2 separate regions of the Homo sapiens genome follow, and region 1 is linked to region 2. Evidence: promoter capture Hi-C in 16 types of primary human blood cells and fetal thymus (Javierre and others, 2016). All regions are on one chromosome and are shown on one strand. The core of a region is centred on a gene start or on the middle of the fragment in contact, and the rest is flanking DNA. Distances in the headings are between cores, read along the strand shown.

Region 1 (7,718 bases), core at 869-3,368, 1.0 Mb before region 2:
GATCTGAATCATGTCAGAGTGATGATAGATTTTGTCATTTTGTTGTGATTATTAGTAATGTTTTACTACTGTATTCATTGGGGCTGTGTTGAGACCAGCCAAATCCATTTATAGCTTTACTGAGCCGGATTGATTTGTCAGGATTTCCCAAGTGAAAGTTGGGCATATTGCCCAGCTCCTGCTGGTGGTATCTTTGGGGAGTGTGGGATGGGGTGGGGGGATGTCCTGGGGCAGGGGTGGGAATGACACATATAAGGCATTCCATTTTTTTTTTTTTTTTTTTTTTTTGCTTGTGCTTATTAAATAGCAAGGGTGTTTACTCAGGATTTGGGGATCAGTTGTAGCCATGTTGAATTTGGCAAACTGAGCTGTGTGCCCTGAAAGCCCTCTTTTTATTTCTTCATTTCCATATTGTCTGACTTACTTCACCTAGGAATACCTGAGTTATCCAGTCCAGTGTTCCCTGATGAGAGTGGAAGATTTTCCTGGAGAGGCAGCTGTGCATGGCCAGGTCATCTGTCAGGATGTTGTGGTGGTGTGTGATCAGAGCAGAGGGCCTTTCTTTTCCTGTACTGTGCTCTACTTCCTTATGCATGCTTGGTTTCAAAGATGACCGCCACTTTAAAAGAAAGATTTCCTCACAGCTCTCCAGAGAACTATCATACTAAGGTGATAGGAAAGGCTTCTCGGATACAAGCCAACAAGTCAGTTTTCTGATTACAGAAACTCCTCTCACAGGTTATGTTTGGAAAGGCTGTTCTCCATTCCACTTATAAATTGAAAGTGATAAGCTACTGTCTTGTGATCTTGCAGGGCCAGTGGTTGACTCATCTCTGAAAGGTAACTTCGTTCATATCTATGTATTTTCAAACCTGGAAGCTTGTAAATTGGAAGTTTCAGTATTAGCTTTATTATTCTTTCTTGGTGAGGAATAGAAATGGCAGCAAAAAGAAAGCCAACAATCTGAAAACTCCAGTCTCCTCTAACACTGGCTTTGTTTTAAATCAAGATGGGAAGAGATACATGAGGGGTGGGAGGGAAGATATGCCGGCTGCCCTTTCTTATCTCAGTGACGTAGATGCCTCGGGATTATAGGCACGCGGATCACTGAACCTCTTTTTTGTCATTCTTCCTATGACATTTGTGGCAGAACTTTTTAGTTGATTCTGTTCACATGAAATGTGACAAGCATTTTTACACCATGAGACAGTTTACTACCCACATGCCACACCCATTGTCTGTCTCATCAGCCAGCCCCGTAACTGCACCCAGAGGGGTGCAGCTGCAGGGGAGCTGTGCCTTTCTCCTCTCCTGACACTCCTTTCACGTGGCAGGTTTGCAGGTTGGTTGGCCCTGGTCTGGACAGCTGTGTCCGTGCCTGCTCGGCTGCCCTCCAGTTGGTCGGTGTGGCTGGCGTGGGCATGTACCCCCCGACTCGCACTTGAGAAGTCTTGGGATGCCGGCTCCCTCGACTCCATTTTCATTTTAAGTAAGAGTGGCTCTGTATAGCCATAATTAACTCTCAAATTCACATTGGTGTGCTGTGATCAAATGAAGGTTGGACTGAATCTTTTCAAACTGTAACCATGGTAATTGAGGGGGGTGGCATAGAATGAATATATAAAAATATAATGGCAATTGTTCTGAATGACTGAGTGTCCTCCTGACATGTAATTAGCTGTTTTAGCAGGATGTAGATTGGCATGGTCATAATTAAAAGAATTTCTGTCTTTTATGTGATTGGAAATGGCAGCGCTCCCATCCCCTGTTCCCTCTTAGCACTAATGCTCCCAAGAACATTTGGAACAGCAGCTCCATAAACTAAAATAATGACATGGTGCTCGTGTTCTCCCCTAAGTGAAACAGCAGAATTTGGAGTTGTTTCAGCTTCAAAATGGAAGCCTTTGATTATTGTTCCCCATTTGACTTCTAAGTTCTTTGAAACTTCACTCAACATCCAGTTCCAACTTGCTCCACCTCTGGCAGAAACCACAGTCAGGACCCCAGAAGAAGCCCCTCTGACCGGCCCCCACTGCATTCCAGCCCATGGTCTGGCCAGCTCCGGGCCCTTGCTTGCCTAACTCGAGGATGTTGCTGCTTGCTGGGCTCTCTGGGATCTTCAGATTTCCCTTGGTTGCTTGATATTTCCATTGCCGTCACTATCAGAAAGCATTTCCCAAACAGAAGTTTACAGAAAATTGAATCGAGGTTTCCTCATTGAATCCTAAGACTCAAAGCAGACAACATGACAGGACACATATAACTAACACAGGCTTTAAACAGGTGGAGGCGTGAATGGAGTACTATTCACGACATTCTAAAGCTACTGGAGCACGGGACACGTGTCTGTACGCTCCTCTCACACCCCTTACTCGGCAGCTGCCCCACTCCCGCCGTTGCCGTTGCCCTGAGTCTTCCCCACTGTTCTGCTGTGCCAGTGTGAGCATCTCCCCGGCACTCAAGTCCATGTTCTCTCCCTCCCGCTCTTCCTCCTGTCTCTTCCATGCTCCCTGTTGCACGGGACATCATGTGGGCTTGATGCCGTACACAGTCCCTGACCATGGCCCCCTACTCTTCTCCAGAAGTGTCACACTAGACAGGAGCTGCTGAGTCACCAACTCACCTTTCCCTAGAATGTGGGTTTGTTTTTTCTCCCCCATCACTTGCAGAGGTCTTTTTTCAATTATATGATCAAGAATGAGTCTACAAGAATACCAGCACCAGACATAGTGCCAAATGGCCTTTTGTAAGCTGTTTCGTGCCCTTGAGGCTCGCACTTGTGCTGGGTGAGCCCAGGACCGTTAGCCTTTTCTTTTCTAGGTCTGGACACTCCGGGGTTGGTTAGGCTAGCCACTGGGGAGAATACAGCTCTGGCCTTTTTTCATATTTTGCTGCTTCTCTTTGTACAGATCTTTCCCCCTCCACATACCAAAAGGAATCCTAACCTAGTTGAAATGCTAGTTGCAATTCAGTTTCATGAGAATGCTGAAGTAGGCTGCTGATTTAAAATTTTCCTCTTCCCTGAAAATACACACACCTAGAGAATTTAGGGAAAGGCTCTTAGGGCTTGGGAATCTTATCTTTTCATTCCCCACAAAATACCTACAAAGAAATGTCTAGTATTCCCTCAGTATTCCTCCTCGTATAGGCTCTGAAAGCAACCTCATTCCCACCCAGCCCTTGCACACCGGCATTCAAGATCCATGCATGCAGTTGTTGAAACTGTTTTCTTTGGGATCCTATCTTTATGACAACTGGAATGATTGTAGATTTATGACCTCAAAGAGTAGAGCATTCCTTTTCCTATTTTCCCAGCTGCTAAAATATGACTGTCTCCATTAGAATTTAGAATCCGTCTTAAGCTTAGAGATGGTAAGAGCTGACTGGATGAGTCTAATTCTATGATTTGTGAGACATGCATTAAAACCGTCAGCAGAACATTCTGATGATCCACCTACACTCAAAGAAAACACAATTAACACCACAGTTAAAACCTTCTAATGGAGCCCCTGTCTTAGGGATCAAGGTATTAGAGGTGCTGCTTCAGGGATGGTGCTACTTCAAAAGAACTGAAGTTGGAGAGACACCTCCCTTCCCAAATGCTTCTGCAGGCCACTCTGGTGATTCAGAAAACCCCAACCATATATTCCTTTACCAGCAGCGCCCACCCTTTTCCGTAACTCAGCTTACCAAAATCAGTGAAAATTGAGACAGTGCTTACCCATGAAATATGTGGTTTTTGAACAAAAACCCCAGAAGTTAGTTATTCTTATAGGAAACTAAAGATGCCACCATTGTAAATCATAATACTACAGAGACAAATGCACAGGTCTCCCAACCACCTCAAAGTCAATACAGCCCATGTTTTCTGAGCACGTACTGTGTGCTGGGCACCGTGCTGGACATGTGTGCTGCCTCATGACCCGACACCAAGCAAGTCACCTTGCCCTTGGCAAGGCAAGTCTCCCCTCATTTCTTTCATTTCAGTAGGACGTTCATCTTCAAAGAACAGACCACATAGGATGGTCTGCCCTCTCTGAACACTAACCTGGTTTGCTTTCTCACGCAGCAGTGCCAGGTAGCCTCCCAGGCGCACTGTGGCATCGCCCCCGCCTCTGTGAGCTGAACTCCCTCCGTGAGGGTCTGGACGTGAGGGCCCCTCCAGAGTCTTCCTCCCTGGTCAGTGATGATGACAGGAGTGCAGGGAGGTGCCGCAGTGGTTGACAGGGTGGGAAGCCTGTGTGGCCGAGGGGAACTTGAACTCCGGCACCCCTTGCCTGCAGTTAGCCAAGGCAGAGACCAGGAAACCCTCTTGCACTTCCCATCTTCTCTCTCCAGCTCTTGTAGCGCTACCCTGGCCGTTCCTTCGGGGCTCCTGCTGTGTTCAGGAGCATCTTGCTCAGCTGGCCCCTCCTCCTCTCTAGAAACCGGGGGTCTGGGGTTCTGGAATTAGATCAGTGTCTGCTCTGCCTCAGGCCTCCCTGCCTCCTCATGGGCCCTGACTGCCAAGAAATAACAGTTGCTGGAGACATATCTTGATTTGGGGTCAGCGTAAGAACTTTCTAGAACCCAGAATCCAGCAAAGGCATGAGCTCCTTTGAGGTAGAGGTCTGGTTCCTGTCCTGCCACATTTCACGTGGAACTGTGGTAACTTGTCAGGGACATTGAACAAGGGACATGGGTACCAAGCTGACCTGAGGACTCAGCTAACTAAAGTTCCACATTTCTTCCCTCCTTCCCTTGTCTACCTCTTTTCCGTCAAACGTAAGTGGTCCTCTAGGGGTTGGCTCTCTCATGGTCTTTCTCTTCTGATCTGCTCTGCCCCGTCGTGGGCATCTTGGAACCACCTCAGAAGCAAGGCCACAGCTGTGGACTGGTCCTCGTGAGAGTCTCCCTGGATCCTCTGTACCTGTAATAGGTACACAGTTACGTTATTATCCAACCTCCAATCCCCAAAAAGCCTCCTTAATTTGAAAGAGAAAAGGTATATGTGCCTTGCATTTTGTTATCGGTCCAGATTTTGCATCTGGTGGTGGCTGGGGTGCCATTGGGATTTTGGAATGGGAGCAGTTTGATTCCTCCCTCGGAAGGAACTCATGGCTCTCACAAACCAGTGTCTGTGGCAGTGACAAGTCACAGAATTTGTGTTTCAAGGCTTATTCCTTCTTCCCTTTAAGACTTTTTCAACTTCCTGTCACTTCGGGCTGAGTCTCAATTTCAGTCATGTTTTGTGGCTTCCTTTGAGCACAGAAACCTCTCCTTTTCTTCCGTTACTGGAACTAAGATCCCAGCGTAAACTCGTGAGAGTCATTTTTCCACGTCATCATTCGTTGGAGCTATTAAGCCCGAACACAGAATGACATTAGTGTTATACTAATGTAAGCAGCAGCCACTCTGGTGATGTTGCATTGAACTCTTTTGTTCTTAAACCAGATTCACGGCGGGCAGGCACAGAGTTAGAAGAGTGGGCTGCAGGAAGACACGTGCTCAGCGGTGGCTGCTTTCAAGCAGCATTGTTTTTTGCCTTGAAAACCACATTTCATTATGTTAGAATCGGTGATCCCCTTAATACTGCATCTCTGAAAATGGGCACCATGAAACCAAAACCAAAGTTCTGGATGTGGGGGAGTGGAGCTTTTCTTTCGAAGCACTGGGAGCTTGGGCAGGGCGTCCCGACTGCCCCTCAGTTTTGCCGGAGCACTCGGAAGGGCCTCCTCTTTTCCTAGTAGTTGCCTCATGGTGACTCTAGAAAGCAAGTGTGTGCAGCCTGTGCCTCCCCGACCCATGGCGGGCGTCTAGATCAGGCCCTAGGAGCCTCCCCATCCCTGCCTCTTCTAGCCACTTCCCGGGGGGCTGTAGAGCACGGTCACAGGAAGGCCTCTGCTGGGCCGAGTCTGCGGTCCCTGAGCCATCACAGCACTGGCGTCTTCAGACACACCCTGGCTGCAAGGCAGGACACTCCCCCTGCCGAGAGACACCATGTGCGTCATCATTGCCTCCCCTGGAAGAGCCCACAGCCTTCTATGATCTCCCCCCCGGGCTCGCCCTGCCTTCCACGGCCATGGTCACGTTGGGTATGCAGTACTTTTCAAGGATAAATTTTTGTTTATGTTTTTTAAGTGCCTAAGCAAGATACAGACCTCTGGAACCTGCCAGAGAGTCGGCCTATGCCCTGTCCCCATCCCTCCCCACCCTGCACTGGCCCTTGAGGGTGGGCACAGGGCGGCTGCCCCTCTCCAGTGTCCCTGGCGTTCTGCAGGCAGAACAAGGCAAGGACAAGCTAGCGGGAGAGATCGCTTCACAGCCATATCAGGCTGGCTTCGTCACTGTTTTCCAGCGTTTCTTTCTTTAGGGCCGTTTCTGTTTATGTGGTTTGGTCTTGGTTCATAGAGAATTTAAGAGTCTGCTTAGGGAAATCTCAGTAGCCACTAAGAAGACAGGAGAGCAAGACAGCCTCAGAGCAGCATTCCAGCTCTGGCTTTGGTAGGAGTTGGAAATGTGTCCACATCCAAGAGGGCGAAGCGTCGAATCATCCTAGCTCATGAGCCTGCTGACTCACCTGCCAGCGTGAGCCACCGGAGCCCCAGCTGCCTTTCCGAGCCCTCTCTGCCTAGACTAGAGGGATCAGGGTGTCTGCTCGGGAGGGCTTGGGAAAGCCAGCAATCAGGCGTTCAGATCCCAAGTGTGTCTTTGGAAATGAGTGTGAGAGTATTTGTTTCTTTTTTAAAAAATAATTTAAGTCTGACCTAAATACGGGGCCTTTATTCTGTGATGGGTGTACGACAGATTATTTTGTGACTGCAGTCTGTTCAAATCACATCACTAAGCAGCGCTGAGATGATTTGTTGGTGCATTAAAAGGTTTTGCATCATGGAACAATCCATACCCAGGCACTTTATTTTCATTAATAATCCAGCATTTTTGTTCAGACAATGTAATAACCCAAACACTGGGTATTCATATTTGACACATGGGCAAACTTGCCAGTGGAATGGAATTGTGACCTGACAGAGAAGGGAAGGCAGGCTGACGAAGGTGATCGAATGGGAGAACAGTGCTGTGGTGATCATGAGAATGAGGCTTTTCTGTAGCATGTAAACCAAACCGGACCCTTGGCAGTTCGTCGTCCCTCAGTTCTCCAGATGCTATTTTTTGCAGGTTCTACCAAGTGCTTGTTGATTACCCTAGTTGTAATTATCTAGGGAAGAGATGAATGTAAGTGAGAGTGCAGAGCACTGGGGAGGGTGACAGTGAAATGCAATTAGAGGCAGCAAGAGAGTCCTAGTCTGTTCTCACATAACCGGACTTGAACGCTCCAGTGCGAGCAGAGTGCTGGGGGTGGATTCCACTGCCGAACCACGGCAGCTTTGCTTTACTCTTCAGCATGGGGGTGGTAACTAGCTGCACAGCAAGTTATGAAATGGAAAGCAAGCTTAACAGCTGTAATCTCATCGGATACCCTGGAGCAAATGCCTTGGGATTGCCTGAAGTGAAGTGTTTAGCATCCACCAAATAGTTGAGTTTCTAAGATGGGCCATGCGGGATCCCTGCCACACGGGTGTGGGGGCAGCGCGCTCCTCCCTGCCTCGGCTGCTGTGTGTGTTAGTCTTCATGTTTCCCCTTGGCGTCTCCTCTGGTCCCTGTCCATCTTGTGCACCATGTGTCCCTGAGGGCGAGTCACACCTGTGTCTTGAGTCTGCTGTAAGGTGTTCAGTCTA
Region 2 (7,238 bases), core at 1,788-4,287:
CAGGAAATGGTTAACTCCATGCTTCTAGTTGCTCAAGCCAAAAACCTTGGACTTCTCATCTTCTCTCCTCTCACTCCTACATCTGATCCTTCAGAAGATCATGTTAGCTCCACCTTCCAAACAGGTGACAAGAGAATCCAGCTACTCTAACCAGCTCTCTACTGCTCCTGCCCTGGGCCAAGCGGTCACCACTCTAAGAACTTACTGTACAATATTAAAATAGATAGCAATATATATTAATTCACTGGTTTCCCTGCTTCCCTCCTACCCTCTTCGGTCTGTTTTCCACAGAGCAGCCCAAATGAGCCTTTAAAGATATAAGTAATTTCAGGTCATTTACTCCTCCTCCCCACTTCAGGTTTCCAGTCAAATGTCACCCTAACAGTGACTTCCCTGACCAATGTACGTTTTTTAAGTCTCCACTTCTGCCCGCACACCATGTCCTCCTTACGCTGTTTATCATACACGGTGCATACCAATTTTCACAATATAGCATGTTATTTACATGTTTATCTGTTTATTGTCTATTTCTCCCCAATAGAGGTAAAGTCCTTGGAGGCAAGACACTGTTTTGTTCACTGCTATATTCCCAACACCCGGAAGAGTAACTTAATATAAGATTACATTCAATAAGGAATTTTGAAAATTCATTGGTAATCTCTTTAGAATGGTGCTAATTTTTTTTTCCAGACAAATTACTGCTCAATGTGAGCTAAAGTAATGGCATCCAAGTCAAACAAAAGATAAATTAGGGAGCCGATTAATGCTTTAGTAAAGGACTTAATAAATAGTATGTCAATAAAGTATCTTCATTTAAAAAGTTCCTCAAAGTGCCGGGTGCGGTGGCTCACGCCTGTAATCCCAGCACTTTGGGAGGCCAAGGCGGGCGGATCACCTGAGGTTGGGAGTTCAAGACCAGCCTGACCAACATGGAGAAACCCTGTCTCTACTAAAAATACAAAATTTGCCGGGCATGGTGGCACATGCCTGTAATCCCAGCTACTCGGGAGGCTGAGGCAGGAAAATCGCTTGAACCCAGGAGGCAGAGGTTGCGGTGAGCCAAGATCGCGCCATTGCACTCTAGCCTGGGCGACAAGAGTGAAACTGTCTCAAAAAAACAAAACAAAACAAAAAAGTTCCTCAAAGTAAACTTTGAAGTAGAATTTACATAAAACAATTGAGTTTACTCTGCAAAATATTGTGGTGCTTTGTGTTCCAGAACAATAGTTTTACAGCGTAGATAAACCAGGAAGTGGTTCATCTTTAATTTAAATTTGGTTCTTCTTTCATAGTTTTTATAGTTCTTCTGGCTCTTCAACTGTAAACTTCCTTTATTAAATTTATTTACGAACTGATTCAAAGTTCAACAAATTAAAGTTTCATTCTAGGTTTTCACTTGTAATTCTGATCAAGTCTCCCACTCATACACAGCTTTCTAGAAATACAAAAGAAAAACGTACAGACATTTAAATACAACTTGGCTTTTTATTTTTGGTAATAAAATGTCCACATCAAATGACTACTCAACGTGATGTGCTTGCAAATAGCACCTTCTCTCTCATTTCAGCATGTAAGAATAGGCTATTATAGAAATAAACCTGTTGCTTAAATTCGACAATGCAGGCATTTCCAATCACCAAATCACAAAGGCAATATGCTTTCCATGCCATCTTTACTTCGCAAAGCAAAAATGATGTTGTTTTCATTTTTTTTTTTTTTTACAGAATTCCAAAGTAACAGCATGCGTCATTTATTACATGGAAAAAGTCAAAATCTGTATCTAAGTATATAGACATATACGTATTAATTGCACGGAATATTACTGATCCCATGAAAATTCTTTAGACAATTTTAATACTGTACTGACATAAAAGAACCTCTTTCCTAAAACCCACTTATCATGTACCATCACTAAAAAAAACCGAGAAAATTATTTTTTAAATTCTTCTCTACGGTGAAAGCCAATGGGAAGAGCTGGTGCCGCGCGATGTACATCACTGCAATCGTCAGATAAGAGGCAGCGGTTCTCATAAAGACGCGGTGGCTCACGCCTGTAATCCCAGCACTTTGGGAGGATGAAGGCGGGTGGATCACGAGGTCAGGAGGTCGAGACCAGCCTGGCCAACATAGTAAAACCCCGTCTCTACTAAAAATACAAAAAAATAGCCAGGCATGGTGGTGGGCACCCGTAATCTCAGCTACCGGTGAGGCCGAGGCAGGAGAATCTCTTGAACCCAGGAGGCGGAGGTTGCAGTGAGCCGAGATCACGTCATTGCAGTGCGGCCGGGGCGACAATGTGAGACTCCGACTCAAAAAAAAAAAAAAGAGTGCAATCTGCGATTCTGCTAACAGACCTGCGAGGTCTGCAGCCCTGTCCGCTAAGGGTGACTCAGAGACTGCCAGTGGCAGGCAACGGCCGGCGATAGCAACAGGCAGCCATGACAACAGCAGGCCACGATGACATCACACAGCCATAACAACAAAGCAGATGCGCAGGTGAGTGTCCAGCTCTCCAGTTATACTCAGAGATGAGAAAGACGACAATGGGCAAATTCCGGGAGTCCGGGGCAGGGAGAAAGGGGACCTTAAGGATCTCCAGCCGTCCCGCCCCGCCCACTCGAGCAGTCCCTACCCGCCTCCCAAGACGCCTGGGAAGAGCAGTGGAACCAGGGAGAGCACGAACAGCAAAGAGGTCAGACATGGGGAATCCGGGCACCCAGGCTCCGGGAAGACGGCGCACGGAAACGCAGGGGAGCCTGCACCGGCTGACGGCGGCGGAAAAGGGCGAACGAAGCGCCTGAGGGCCCTGGCAGCACTCACCAGGGTCGTTCCAGCCCAGGGCAGGGCCCGCGGTCAGCAGAAACAAATGCAAGCCGAGGAGCAAGCAGTACCCGGCCGCTCCCGGCCCGCAGGCTGCGGCCATGGCGCTCGATGAAGATGGCGCCGGGCTGCCAGACGCCTACGGGCCGAACCTGGGTGCGGTAGCGCGCGCGACGCTGCGCAGCTACACCGCTACCCCTGGCGGCGGCGAAGGAACGGCCCGACTGCAGAGCTGCAGCCGCAACGGATCCGTGCGCCAACCCTACGTCACTGCCGCTGCGGCCCGTGGGGCTCAGTGAGTGGCCGCCGTGGGCCCCCGCCCCTGGAGCACAGCGCGGCTTGGGGCGGGGCGAGGCGGTGTGGGCGGGGCCAAGGGCCTGGGGAGGCACGGCTGGAGGCGGGTTGGAGGCGTGGCGCCGCGGTGTGGGCGGGGCCGAGGGCCTGTCGCCGCCGCGCCCGCGGGCGGGGCGAGGGCAGCGCGCAGCTTTGTTGTGTCTCGTCTGAGATTCGGGAAGCTTCTGTGCGTAGGCGATGCAGTTTGAGAGGCTGAAAACGTCACGACGCGAAATCTAAGAAATGTAGTCAAATTATGTATTATTAAAACCTCAATAATTGTACCAAGGGTAGTTCTGTGCTTTATTCAGCTCTATGTGTTCAGCACTTAGCATAGCGCTTGGTACATGGTTAGTGTTCTATGACTGGTTGCTAAATACAGAGAAGATTCAAGCGAAAAGTAACAGGGAAATACATTGTCTGGTTTCAAGGCTCAGAACCTTTACATGGTTCCTTGCGCATGGAGGCCGGAAGACTATAAAATGTCAAGAGGAGAAAATATCGTCTGAATGAAGAACCAGCCAGAGAAAACAGTTCTCTGGGCTTTTGAGGTCTAGCAGGCTTGGGTTTCTTTCATTCATTCATTCATTCATTCATTCATTCATTCATTCAATGAATATATGTTGAATACCTAATACGCACCAGGCACTGTTTTAGGCATGGATGGTACAGACAAGATCCCTGTACTCATTGAAATAGAATAGGACAAACGACATACCAATTAAACAACAAAAATAATAGGTAATGATAGGTAATAACATTGATGAAAAACAGGGTGATATAATGGAGCCTGGGGACACAACTTCAGGGAGGGCCTTGCTGAGGAAGTGGTTTTTGAAGCTTGGGACCTGAATGATGAGAAAGAACTAGCCGTACAAAGATCAGGGGACTCATCTTCCCATCTGGGGAACAGTGGATGCAAAAGCCCTAACTTTGTGTTTCGAGGAAGAGTTATTTGGTCAGATCCTATAAAGAGTTCAGTCCCACAAGATGGCCCCAACTTCAGACATCAATCACAAGTCTCAGGTTGTGACCTATGCTTCTGACCAACCAGCTATAAATTAGGGTTTCCAGGCCGGGCGTGGTGGCTCATGCCTGTAATCCCAGCATTTTGGAAGGCCAAGGCAGGTGAATCGCCTGAGGTCAGGACTTTAAGACCAGCCTGGCCAGCATGGCAAAACCCCACCTCTACTAAAAATAGGAAAAATAGCTGGGCGTGGTGGTGCACACCTGTAATCCCAGCTATTTGGGAGGCTGAGGCAAGAGAATCGCTTGAACCTGGGAGGCGAAAGTTGCAGTGAGTCAAGACTGCCCCACTGCACCTGGACCATGGAGAGAGACTCCCTCTCAACAAATAAATTGGGGTTTTCATAACCCCCCATCTTGAGTTCCATAATTTGCTAGAATGGCTCACAGAACTCAAAAAAACACTTTATGTTTACCAGATTATTATATTGAGCACCTATTAGTACCTAACAGTACCTGCCAGGCACTGTTATCAGTATTGGGGATACAGCAGTGAATAAAACAAAATTTGGGGGACAAGAGGCAAACAAGGCCATAACTGAAGCAAAGTAAGTTAGGGGAAGAGTGGAATAAGAGATGGCAGAGCAGTGGGGCCTCGGCATGGAACCAACCAATGCTGGGACCAAGGACTGAAATAAGAGATAATAGAGAATCTATGCTCAACATGTTAAGTTTGAGGTGACTATTAGGCATCCAGGTAGACGTGTCAAATAAATAGATAAACTGTAAAAGTCTGAAGTTCAAAACTAAGGTAAATTTGGTAGTTATGTTGTAAATATAAAGATAGCATTTAATGTCATGATGCTATTGTTTGAATGTGTCCCCCAAAGCTCATGTGTTGGAAACTTATTCCCCAAAGCAATAGTGTTGAGAGGGGGGACTCTTAAGGGGTGATTAGGTTATGAGGGCAGAGCTCTTAATGCTATTATCACAGGAGTGGGTTAGTTATTGGGGAGTGGGTTCCCGATAAAAGGGATGAGTTCAGCTCCCTTTCTCTTTTGCCTACCACCGTGAAATGACACAGCAGGAAGCTCCCCACCAGATGCAGGCCCCTGGACCTAGGATTTCCCAGCCTCCAGAACCATAAGAAATAAATCTCTATACTTTATAAATTTCCCAGTCTCAGGTATTCTGTTATAGCAACACAAAATGAACTAAGACATGTGGGAAGAGACACAGTAACATGAGAGAATTGAGATACCACAAAAAAGGAGGCCCAGGCTATGGAAACACTAACATTTGAACCTCAAGCAGAAGATTCTAGAAAGAATCTGAGAAGTAACCTCTGGTGAAGAAGGAGGAAGAACTAGGACAATAGGATATGGTAATTGAGAGAAAGAAAGAATGGTCAACAGTGTCCACTGTTGCTGAAAGCTTGAAGCAAAATTTGGTCTCTGAATTTTGCAATGTAGAAATCACTAATTACCTTAACAAGAGAATGTTTGTTATTTTAGATTCCCACCATGTACCATGTACAGTTCTGGACAGTCATGAACAAAAGATGAAAGGTTGTTATAATAAACATTCTAGTGGGAGAGGTAGCCAACAAATCATGTCATTTCAAATAAATAAGTGCTTTGGGCCAGGCACGGTGGCTCACACCTGTAATCTCAGCACTCTGGGAAGCCGAGGCTCAGGATCACTTGAGACCAGGAGTTTGAGGCCAATCTGGGCAACATAGTAAGACCCCATCTCCACAAAAAATTGTTTTTAAAAAATTAGCCAGATGTGGCCAGGCACAGTGGCTCACGCCTGTAATCCCAGCACTTTGGGAGGCCGAGGTAGGCAGATCATGAAGTCAGGAGATCGAGACCATCTTGGCTAACACAGTGAAACCCCGTCTCTACTAAAAATACAAAAAATTAGCTGGGCATGGTGGCGGGTGCCTAAGTCCCAGCTACTCAGGAGGCTGAGGCAGGAGAATGGTGTGAACCCGAGAGGCGGAGCTTGCAGTGAGCCAAGATCGCACCACTGCACTCCAGCCTGGGCGAAAGAGTGAGACTCCGTCTCAAAAAAAAAAAAAAAATAGCCAGATGTGGTGGCATGTGCCTGTAGTCCCAGCCACTCAAGAGGCTGAGGTGGGAGGATCACTTGAGCCCTGGAGGTTGAGGCTGCAGCAAGCCATGACTGCATCACTGCACTCCAGCCTGGGCAACAGAGCAAGACTCTATCTCAAATAATAATAAGTACCTTGAAGAAGAAAACAGAGCAATATGACAGGTAGTGCCATAACAAGTAGGATGGCCCAGAAAAGATTCTCTGAGAAATTACCATTTGAGCTGAGAGCTAAATGATGAGGCTGTAAAAGGAAAAAACAAACTGTTTTCTCCTTTCTACTGGCACAAAACACAGAGCAGTTCTGTGACCAGAAGAGGGGCTGGGGGAGTATTTCCCTACACACCAACCAACTCTAAAGGACATCAACACGATGTCCTATAACTCAATTCAAGTTAAGGGCCCAGTCTCCCACAAGACTGCCCCAATTCAGACGTCAGTCCAGGAAAATATTTTATGTTTACCAGTTTATTGTAAAGGATTTATAAAGGATACAGATGAACAGCCAGATGAAGAGATGGATAGGGCAAAGATAAGAAGGCCATGGGGCTTCCATGCCCTCGCTGGGCACTCCACCCTCCCAGCACCTCCCTGTATTCAGCAACCTAGAAGCTCATGAAATCTTGTTGTCTAAGAGTTTGTATAGAGCTTAATCTCCAGCCACCCGCCCCCGATCTCTCCTGTTGGTTGGTGGGTGGGCTGAAATTTCCAACCCTCTAACACTCTAATCACATGGTCTTTCTGGTGACTGACTTTTTGGTGTCTGTAAACAATACAGTATAACAACTATTTACATAGTATTTACATTGTTATTAGGTATTATAAATAATTTAGAGATTATTTAAAGTATACAGGAGGGGCTGGGTGCGGTGGCTAACACCTGTAATCCCAGCACTTTTGGAGGCCCGAGGTGGGTGTATCACTTGAGCCCAGGAGTTCGAGACCAGCCTGGGCAACGTAAGAAGACCTTGTCTCTACAAAAAAAAAAAAAAAAAAAAATTAGC

Evidence for each region. The method cuts DNA at HindIII sites, captures the fragments that hold promoters and counts their contacts. A CHiCAGO score of 5 or more calls a contact.
Region 1: a fragment that was not itself captured here is called in contact with the fragment with the promoter of SARAF in region 2 in 1 of 17 cell types (total CD8 T cells); the score reaches 5.9 in total CD8 T cells.

Annotation. Positions count from the first base shown.
Region 1 is chr8:29,055,661-29,063,378 of GRCh38, forward strand. No RefSeq gene overlaps it. Among named protein-coding and RNA genes, the nearest start is that of HMBOX1, 170 kb to the left of the region's middle. RefSeq lists enhancers at 811-2,010, 5,308-5,447, 5,488-5,537, 5,598-5,647, 5,678-5,797. The HindIII fragment of the contact is 2,483 bases long and covers 878-3,360 here.
Region 2 is chr8:30,080,027-30,087,264 of GRCh38, forward strand. SARAF (store-operated calcium entry associated regulatory factor) reads right to left here and starts at 3,038. Exons shown (of 6, transcript NM_016127.6): 1 at 2,821-3,038. The coding sequence starts at 2,923. RefSeq lists an enhancer at 2,602-2,951 and a silencer at 2,992-3,361. The HindIII fragment of the contact is 3,638 bases long and covers 1-3,333 here.